Linked DNA regions of Homo sapiens: region 2 is linked to region 1. The links are contacts of gene promoters, found by promoter capture Hi-C in blood cells and fetal thymus (Javierre and others, 2016). All regions are on one chromosome and are shown on one strand. The core of a region is centred on a gene start or on the middle of the fragment in contact, and the rest is flanking DNA. Distances in the headings are between cores, read along the strand shown.

Region 1 (4,854 bases), core at 793-3,292:
CTTTGAGATGGAGTCTCGCTCTGTTGCCAGGCTGGAGTGTAGTGCTGTGATCTCAGTCCACTGCAACCTCCCCCTCCCAGGTTCAAGCGATTCTCCTGCCTCAGCCTCCCTAGTAGCTGGGACTACAGGAGCGTGCCACCATGTCCAGCAAATTTGTGTATTTTAAGTAGAGACGGAGTTTCACCATGTTGGCCAGGATGGTCTCGATCTCTTGACCTCGTGATCCACCTGCCTTGGCCTCCCAAAGTACTCGGATTACAGGGGTGAGCCACCGTGCCCGGCCCTAACACCTTGTCATTAAACATTCCCTGTCCACCATTAATCATCATTCACCCAGTCTCCTCTCCTCTCTCCCCACCCCTACCCCCACTCCATCCAGCCCCCTAACATTCTGGCCCCAGTTCACACAGCCCCCTGCACAAGCAGCAAACAGGGAGGATGAGCACCTCTGTCAGCTTTGGGACATCTGTGGACCTGCAGGCCTAGGATAAAGGCGCATGCAGGTTTGGTAGCACCTGTGAGTCAGGATGCTACCAACAGTGAGCCTTAGACCTGCTAAATTAGGTTTAGCCTAAAGCTGCCTTCTGACATATTTTAAGTTCAGCCTAAAGGTTTCTCCGTACATCGTGAACTATATGCTTCCGTTTTCTGGGAGTCGCTTTCCTTTTTCTGTCCATAAATCTTCTTCTACCACGTGGCAGCCCCAGAGTCTCTCTGAACCTATTCCGGTTCCCCATGCCCAACTGTGAATCGTTCTTTGCTCAATTAAACTCAGTTAAATGTAATTTGTCTAGGGTTTTCCTTTTAACAGATCTAAGTGCTTCTTTAATTAGAAACAAATATCCTGCTCTTCTCCACAACAGATTGTGTGAATCAAACCACAAAACGTGAGTCTGAAGGTTCAAGATCTTCATACAATCTCAAAACAGACTGGCTAGGCAAGACATTGAGCATGCACGGAGGCCTGGACTGGATCCTCAGCTGTGAGGCCTTCCTGCTTCTGGCTGTTTGTGTAACCTGAGCAGTCTACGGCTTGGCCCTATTTCCTGGTACAGGCATACTTGGAAATATAAAGAAATATGCATGCTTGGTAAGAAGTCTTGCACTCTTGCACTCGGACCCCTTTCCCCAGCTGACATTGTAGGTAAGATAATATGAATTGAGCAAATGTGACTCCCATGGAGTAAAAGCCCTCTATTTAACCAGGCAGTCGAGATATTGAATAATCCTAGTGGGAAGCTGTTTTAAAATTTAGAGCTAATTACTTAATCTAAAGCTAATATTTCTGAAGGAAGTTTTTTTCAATCTGATAATCATACCACCATAGGCAGTTTATTTAAGAAAACACATTAATTAAAACATCAACGTTCAAGAAATCACAACCAGGTTTAGAAGCAGGCACGTTTCCTTTGGAACACTTGTAATTAATATTCACACCACTTCCTGCAGGTTAGCAGGCTACTAACGCTCGTTTGAACGGGCTGTGGGTCGTAATCACAGATGATGCAGAATCGCTGAGCTCTGAGGCCCCACAGCGTTCCAGTTGGGAGAACTAATCTCTGGAATGTTCTCAGTCTCTGCTTGCCCCTGGGAAGGAGGGTAGCAGGCGGCATGGGTGACCCTGAGGCGACTGTGCTCTGAGGACCCAGAGCTACCTGCAAGGGCAAGTAGGAAACAAAACACCGGACCCATCTCCCTCCCTCCCTCTCTCTCCCGCAAGCCTTGTCACACACACACACACACGCACACACGCGCACACACACGAACTTCCCATGCCTCTTACTTTGCTGACAGGCCGAGAGAATAGAGACAGCAGCCAGCAGGATCGAGTTCCCGGCCATCTTTCTCACGGAACTATTTGTAGAGCGCACGGGAAGATAAATGGCGCTTCTTGACTTTGAATGCTGACCTTCCTTATCGGGTAAACAAAGTTGGGGACCGGGTGGGGGGAAAAGGCTGATTCAAGCGGCTGAATGACCTTTGCTCTGGAACAGAAGTCAGGAAGGCAGGCAGGTCTGGGGCTGCCGGTCACAGATCTTTATGGGGCTGGGAGTTGCTTCCGGCGTTTGTTTTAAGCCTCTCCCACGGCCAGCGGGCAGGGCTGTAGCTCACTGTGGGACCAGCCCTCCAGCCGCAGTGCCAGTTACACTATCTTCTCTGCCAATGCACAGACTCTCTGGATCCCTTTCATCCCCACGCCCTTCCCTCCTAGGGCCTTGCTGAGACCTTTCTCACCTCCTGTGGAAAAAGTGAGAAGGAACTACTTACTTAATCCTGTTGACATTTTAAATGCTAATTTAAGCCAGTTCTAATGTATTCACGCTCTGAATGGCCGATTTAGGATTTGAACCCAGTCTAGCAGATTACAACTGTGCCCTATCCCCTGCACCAGGCTGCCTCTCACTGTCACCTAGAGACTCTGATAATAATCATACTTTTTTTTTTTAAGACAGGGTCTTGATCTGTCACCCAGGCTGGAGTGTGTGGTGGCACGATCATAGCTCACTGCAGCCTCCAACTCTTGGGCTTAAGTAATCCTCCTGCCTCAGCCTCCCAAGTAGCTAGAACTACAGCCACAAGTCACTGTGCCCAGCCATTTTTAAAAAAATAAACCGGCCGGGCGCGATGGCTCACACTTGTAATCCCAGCACTTTAAGAGGCCAAGGAGGGTGAATCACGAGGTCAGGAGATCAAGACTATCCTGGCTAACACAGTAAAACCCCTTCTCTACTAAAAATACAAAAAATCAGCTGGGCATGGTGGCACGAACCTGTAGTCCCAGCTACGCAGGAGGCTGAGGCAGGAGAATCTGCTCTTTAGAGATGCAGATTCTGGCCTGGAAGGATGGCTCATGCCTGTAATCCCAACAGTTTGGGAGGCTGAAATGGGCAGATGGTTTGAGCTCAGGAGTTCGAGACCAGCCTGGGTAACATGGCAAAACCCCATCTCTTAAAGAAATACAAAAATTAGCAGGGCATGGTGGCACGTGCCTGTAGTCCCAGCTACTTAGGGGGCTGAGGCAAGGGGATTGCTTGAACCCAGGAGCCTGAGACTGCAGTGAGCCAAGGTCGTTCCACTGCACTTCAGCCTGGGTGACAAAGTGAGACCCTGTCTCAAACAAATAATAAAAATAAAGATGCAGCTTCCCAAAAACCAGAGCTGGGGGCCTTTCCTCACCCCATCCTACAGCACCATTAGAGGGTATATCTTGGCTCAAGCTGCTATAACAAAGATACCATAGACTGGGTGGCTTACAATAGCAATTTATTCGTCACAGTCCTGAAGGCTGGGAAGTCCAAGATGACAGTGCTGGCCAATCAGTTCCTGGTGAGGGCCCTCTTCCTGGTTTGCAGAAGGACACCTTCATGTTGGAGACAGAGAAAGAGTAAGCTTCCTGGTCACTTCTTATAAGGGCACAGATCCCATTATGGGGGCCTATGCTCATAACCTCACCTGTAGCTAATTATCTGCCAAATGCCTGATAACATCACGTTGGGGGTTAGGGTCTCAACATATGAATTGCAGAGGGGACACAAACATTTAGTCCCTAGCAGGGAGCTCCCAGTGTCTTCTGGGGAGGGCAGTTGCCTCAGCCTCACACAGACCCTACAATTTAATAACACAACCTTGGGCCTCTCTGAGCCTCCATTTAATAAGATAGGGCTAATAAGAGCTGAAGAGAAGTTTAAATGACATAATCCTATTCTAAGGATTGAATTAGTTAATACTTATAGAGCACTTAAAACAGCACCTGGCATATACAAATGTGTTCTGTGTGTCTGCAAAATAAACACATAAAGTATCTAGACAAGTACTTAGCATATAATGTACCTAATGTTAAAAAATACTTTCAGAGGCAAAAATCATGCCTTTCATACAACATAAAATGAAAACATATCAAAATTTTTATGTAACTCATTCATGAGGGAACCAGTAAGATGTTATAACCAGTTCAAAGTAGAATTCATGGAACTACACATATACAGGAAAGAAGGAATAACAAAATTAATTTATAAATAGTTGCAAGCCAGGTCTGCTCAAAGTTTCTGTTGGTCTTCAGGCTTCCTTGGCTGTTTGCTCTTGAAATCATTGACAACTAAGATTAGATAAGAAAGTAGAGCCAAGAAGCTGGGGCAGCACCAAAACATTCTTGTATACTCAGTTTAATAGTTTTGGGCTTCAGTACATGGCAGAGATTCTAAACTGCAAACTAGCTGCCCTGAACCCATATCACCATCTACTATAATAACCTCCCAAATGACAGATCTCGAAGGAGAGGTCTACATTAGGCCTGGGGACAGGCAGAGGCTCTCAAAGTCAGAGAACGGCTCGGGAAGAGAGGAACAACAGCAGGAGGAGCTGAGCAGAGAATTGTGGCCCTGGCTGATGACTGTAACTTTTGGGTGTTGGTAACTCTTATTTTGAGAAACTCTTGGGTACACCTGTACTAGTCAACTGGTTTAAAATCTACAACTTCCGGCCGGGCGTGGTGGCTCACGCCTGTAATCCCACACTTTGGGAGGCCGAGGTGGGCGAATCACCCGAGGTTGGGAGTTCCAGACCATCCTGGCTAACACGGTGAAACCCCGTCTCTACTAAAAATACAAAAAAATTAGCCGGGCGTGTTGGCGGGCGCCTGTAGTCCCAGCTACTCGGGAGGCTGAGGCAGGAGAATGGCGTGAACCTCGAAAGCGGAGCTTGCAGTGAGCTGAGATCGTGCCACTGCACTCCAGCCTGGGTGACAGAGCGAGACTTCGTCTCAAAAAAAAAAAAAAAATGAAACTTCCCAGCTTCTGGACAAATCCTGAGGTTCCCTACTGACTTCTCCCAGCCAATCTTAAGTCAGTCCCCCAA
Region 2 (4,854 bases), core at 781-3,280, 3.7 Mb before region 1:
AGTGAGCCATGAACTAACCATGTGAAAGAATGAATTAAACCTATATTATCACTTTCACGTTCAGCAAATATGTTATTCTTTAATTCCTCCAAGAATCTGTTTTTCCTAAATTGGGCCTTCTCAAAACAAATATATTTATCTCCCTACCCCTTTCTCCCTTCCTTCTCTGTCACATACACACACACACACACACCCCTACCTTTCTCTTTAGAACAGCTGGAAAAAAAAACACTGCCTCGTTCATATTTTTGGAATAAAGTTAGCATTTTTACTAGGATATTCAGGAAAACTGATAGATGGACAGGATTTGGAGGCATTACACATCTCTGGAGAGCTTTCTTATGATTTGTGGCATCGAGTCTTTCAATAAAATTACTTGTCTATAATAAATTCTGGCAGAAAGTAAATCAGAAATTCACTGGTGAGTTGTCAGTGAAGTTAAATACTTCACTCTGTGTACTTCACTCTGTTCTATACAAGCAAACAGTGACTAACAGGATTAACCTGAGCTCTAATACTGGGTGTAGATATTCCTCAACGACAAACGGGTTCCCTTCGTACAGGCATTAAATTTATATTATATTTAAGGGGGCATAAATTTTGCTTTTGCAAACACATTTTACTAGAAAAATATTTGATCCAGATGTCAGCACAAAAGTGTCATTTCTTTCCTTTGCAAGGGAGCAGCAACAAAACAACCAATGGGGAGGAAGAATAAGATCCCAGACCTCTGAAGAGGACACAGGTTTCCACTAAAGCAAGGTTGATACTTTCAAGGAATATTTTTCCTAACAGCTAAAACGGTTTAACACATAGCATCTTGTATCAATTACACAAACACCATTAAAGCCACTCTGGTTCCCTGGGAAAGGACCGCAACTGAAATCCCTTCTGGCTTCAGCTGTCCCCTCCTGCCGAGTTTGACAGCACATCCAAGGCGCCCAAACACCAGCCACTAGGCTCCCCCCCAGCGCCCTCCTCTCGCAGCAAACCGCCAAGGCTCCCGGGCCAAACTCCAAAGTCCCTCAATTCAAAACCGCGAAAATGTGAACCCTGCTAAGCAAACGGCAGGGCGCGTAATAACTTTTCTTTCTTTCCCTTTTGCGCGCGTTCGATATGCTTGTCTCTACTACCAACTCCTCAGCTCCACAGCCCGCTTCCCGCAACCCATCTCGAGGGGCGGAGGAGAGGGAGCGCCCACCAAAGAAAGGGCTAGTGAGCCCTAAAACCTCGGCAGTTTTCCCGGTGCGGGAGCTTTAGCACACATCAGCCCAATAATCAGATGCAGGAATAAAGCAGGAAGAAGGCTCCTCTCTCCATCGCACCCCATCCTTCCTAAGGAAGAAAAAAAGCATGCAGCAGGAGTTTAGCTGGACGTCTAGGTCCTTTTATGGGGCGAACAGGCCCGCAAAGCAGGCTGTCTGGAACCTGGAGGAAGAAAGTTGTCCGGCCAAGTGGATGCCTGGGCGTGAGGGAGTGCAAGGCACCCTGTCCCGAGCCCGCCAGGGGTAGGGGCCAAGGGGAAAGAGACCGGCATTCGTTTAAGAACCAGCCCCGCGCGCGGCCAGCTGCAGCCGCCGGCGAGCCGACTGGGGAGGGGTGTGGACGCCGAGGCCCGCGGAGTGGTGCCCGCAGCTCTACTTACATAACGCTTCAACTTTTTCTCCGGGGGGGACTTGCGGAGCCATCCGGAGCAGACCACTTCACCACCGCTCATGGTGCGCGCGTCTCGGGCTCCGGGCCGGGCAGCTGAGGGGCGGCGGGCGCGCTCCCGACACAGCCGACGCCTGCCGAGCGCGCAGTGGCGAGAACCTAGCTCTCCTGGTCGCGCACCCCGGACGGACTGGGCGGACAGACTCCACGGTGCGCGGGTTCCACGAGTTCGAGTCTCTCCTCTGCAGGCCCACGAACCTGAACAGAACGCGAGCCGGGGCCGCGGGCGCGCCGGCCTCCTTTCAGTGCGCCCGCCTCGCCTCCAGACGTGCCGTCTCGCCAGCTGCCTCAGCAGCGCTCGGACTCAGCGGGACTCTGCCCCGACTCGGTGCCGGAGCTTCTGTCCTTTGCGCTCCGCCCCCTAGGGACAAGACCTCCCCAGAGCGCTTTCCGAAACAGACACAGCGCTGCTCACACACACACACACACACACACACACACACAATGCCCCGCGCGGTGCCCGCTCGCCCGCCCACCCGCCCTCGGTTTCGATGCGCCCGGAGCGATCCTCCTTCCCTCTCCTCGGGGGAGGGTGGGTCACTTCGCGGCGCTCGGTGAACGCCGAGGAAAGGGGAAGCCGCGAGCCGCCTACGGGCAGCGGGCGCGGGGCTGGTCCCGGGTCACAGAGGGAGCCGCAGGGTTGGCAGCGAAGCGCGGGGCGTTTCTGAGCGGCGGGCGCAGGGAGGTCGCAGGTCAAGCCGGAGGGTGGGTCCGCTCTCGCGGCCGCCGAAGAGGGCGGGGAGCAGCAGAGGAACGAGGCGCTTGGCGGCTTGGCTCCTGGGAGGGATCCCGCTGTCCCGTCCCCTCGCGCTCCTCCCCCGCCGCCTCCCCCACCCCGGGGCTCGCGGCAGGTCCTGAGCGGCTCGGCCCCAGATCCCGATCCCTCCCTCCCTCTCCCGGCCGCCGGGCTCCTTCTTCCTCCCTCTCCTCCTCCCCTTCCCACGTTCAGGCCCGGCTCCGGTTTCTGCCCAGACTTTCTCTGAAACTCCGCCGGAGTGCTTCCAGCCAAAACAACAAGGGCCGGGGGAGGAGACGGACGAAGGGAGGGAGCAAGGGAGGGAGGGAGCGCGAGTCCGAGAGGCACCCTGGGATCTGTAGTTCGGGAAGCAGGAGCAGGGTCCTCCGCCGTCCGGCGGCCCCCAATCGGCTCCTCGCCCGGGAAGACCGCAGAGGCCTCGGCTAGGGCAGAGGCACCGGGGCTTGGGCGCGGGGAAGACTGAGGGACATTCGAATGTTCAGTCCGGGGCTTGCCATCTTGACTCAGCCCGGTGCCAGCTCGGAGCTTGTGCTGTGCTCGAGATCAGGAGTTTCGAGGGTTTTCTTTACTTGAGAGCCTGAAAGGCAAAACCGCGGGGAGACCACCATCCTGCCGGTCCCCGCCGCGCGAGATTAAAGGACAGACCAAGAGGGCGCGGGAGCTACCAGCTTGGAGGGGAGGACAGATGGGGACCCAGGGCTGGCCAGGGCTGGTCTCTGGAGCTGTTCTGCCAGAGTGATGGGGGCGCTTGGCGAGGCCAAGGATTTGGTTGGGTCCTATCTCTGAGACATTTTGAAGTCTCACACCCCTTCCATTTGTTGCCTATTCCACTTAACTTTGTATTTGTTTGAAATCTACTGTTCGGATGCTGGACTAGAAGAGGGACACTTGGCCGGGCGCGGTGGCTCACGCCTGTAATCCCAGCACTTTGGGAGGCCGAGGCGGGCGGATCAACTGAGGTCGGGAGTTCAAGACCAGCCTGACCAACATGGAGAAACCCAATCTCTACTAAAAATACAAAAATTAGCCGGGCGTAGTGGCGCGCGCCTATAATCCCAGCTACTCGGGAGGCTGAGACAGGAAAATAGCTTGAACCCGGGAGGCGGAGATTGCGGTGAGCCGAGATCGCGACACTGCGCTCCAGCCTGGGCAACAAGAGCAAAACTCCGTCAAAAAAAAAAAAAAAAAAAAAGAGAGAGAGAGAGAAAGAAGGAAGGAAGGAAATTTACTGGGTACCCTAGTTCTATTTGCCTACTTCCTTGTGTGTTTCACAATTATTATACTGGTCCTGAGTTTAACATGATTCTGTAATAAACATCTTCTCCAATTTATTTGTGAAAAAGCCCCAAAGCCAATTTCAGCAGATAATATAATCAGATAAAAGTGCTAAAAATATGACGACATAAATGAGCATTTCTGGAAAGACATAACTTCAGTCATTTTCTTATTAACACAACATTCATATTCTGAAGCTCCTCTGAGTTTGAAAATGTTAGATGATTGTAATAAGAAATTAGGTGCTGGAGTGGTGACAAGACAAAGATCCCTGCATATATGGAGGTAGTGGCATAGGGTAGTAAGCAAATAAAGAGTCAACAAAACTACAGATTGAGACTCAGTCTCAAAAAAGAAAAATCTGAAAAAGCCTGGTTCCCACTGGGGTTTAGAGACCGTCATCTTTTGGCAGGCACTTAACAGTATCACAAGGGCGGAACTTCTTGCAGATCTGGATGCACTTTTCAGGTCATCAACTGAGTAGTCGTGACCTTGGGTAAATTACACAATGTCTCTGAGTCTCAGTTTCCCGATATGTGAAATGGGAATTGCAACACCGATTTTGCAGAAGTTTAATGAGAAATAGAAATGGTAGTGTTGGCCAGGTGCGGTGGCTCACGCCTGTAATCCTAGCACTTTGGGAGGCCTAGGTGGGTGGATTGCCTGAGCTCAGGAGTTTGAGACCAGACTGGGCAACTCAGTGAAAACCCGTCTCTACTAAAATACAAAAAATTAGCCGTGGCGGCGTGCGCCTGTAGTCCCAGCTACTCGGGAGGCTGAGGCAGGAGAATCGCTTGACCCGGGAGGCGGAGGTTGCAGCGAGCCGAGATCGCGCTACTGCACTTCAGCTTGGGCGACAAAGCGAGATTGTGTCTCTAAAAAAAAAAAAAGAAAAGAAAAGAAAAGAAAAGAAAAGAAAAGAAAAGAAAAGAAAAGAAATGGTAGTGTTGGTCGGTTAGTCGGGCGCGATGGCTCGCGCTTGTATTCCCAGCACTGTGGGAGGTCTAGGTGAGCAGGTCACTTGAGGCCAGGAGTTTGAGACCACCCTGGCCAACGTGGTGAAACCCAGTCTCTACTAAAAACACAAAAATTAGCCGGGTGTGGTGGCA

Evidence for each region. The method cuts DNA at HindIII sites, captures the fragments that hold promoters and counts their contacts. A CHiCAGO score of 5 or more calls a contact.
Region 2: a contact is called between the fragment with the promoter of GAB1 here and the fragment with the promoter of MGST2 in region 1, in 1 of 17 cell types (monocytes). The highest score is 7.2, in monocytes.

Annotation. Positions count from the first base shown.
Region 1 is chr4:139,663,007-139,667,860 of GRCh38, reverse strand. MGST2 (microsomal glutathione S-transferase 2) reads right to left here and starts at 2,042. Exons shown (of 5, transcript NM_002413.5): 1 at 1,784-2,042. The coding sequence starts at 1,841. RefSeq lists enhancers at 1,818-1,987, 1,284-2,483. The HindIII fragment of the contact is 3,780 bases long and covers 1-3,392 here.
Region 2 is chr4:143,334,052-143,338,905 of GRCh38, reverse strand. It overlaps GAB1 (GRB2 associated binding protein 1), which reads right to left and starts at 2,030. Exons shown (of 10, transcript NM_002039.4): 1 at 1,646-2,030. The coding sequence starts at 1,717. It also overlaps the pseudogene LOC124900789. RefSeq lists enhancers at 1,291-2,104, 3,014-3,223 and silencers at 2,134-2,183, 2,254-2,313, 2,414-2,713, 2,654-2,821. The HindIII fragment of the contact is 8,165 bases long and covers 1-4,854 here.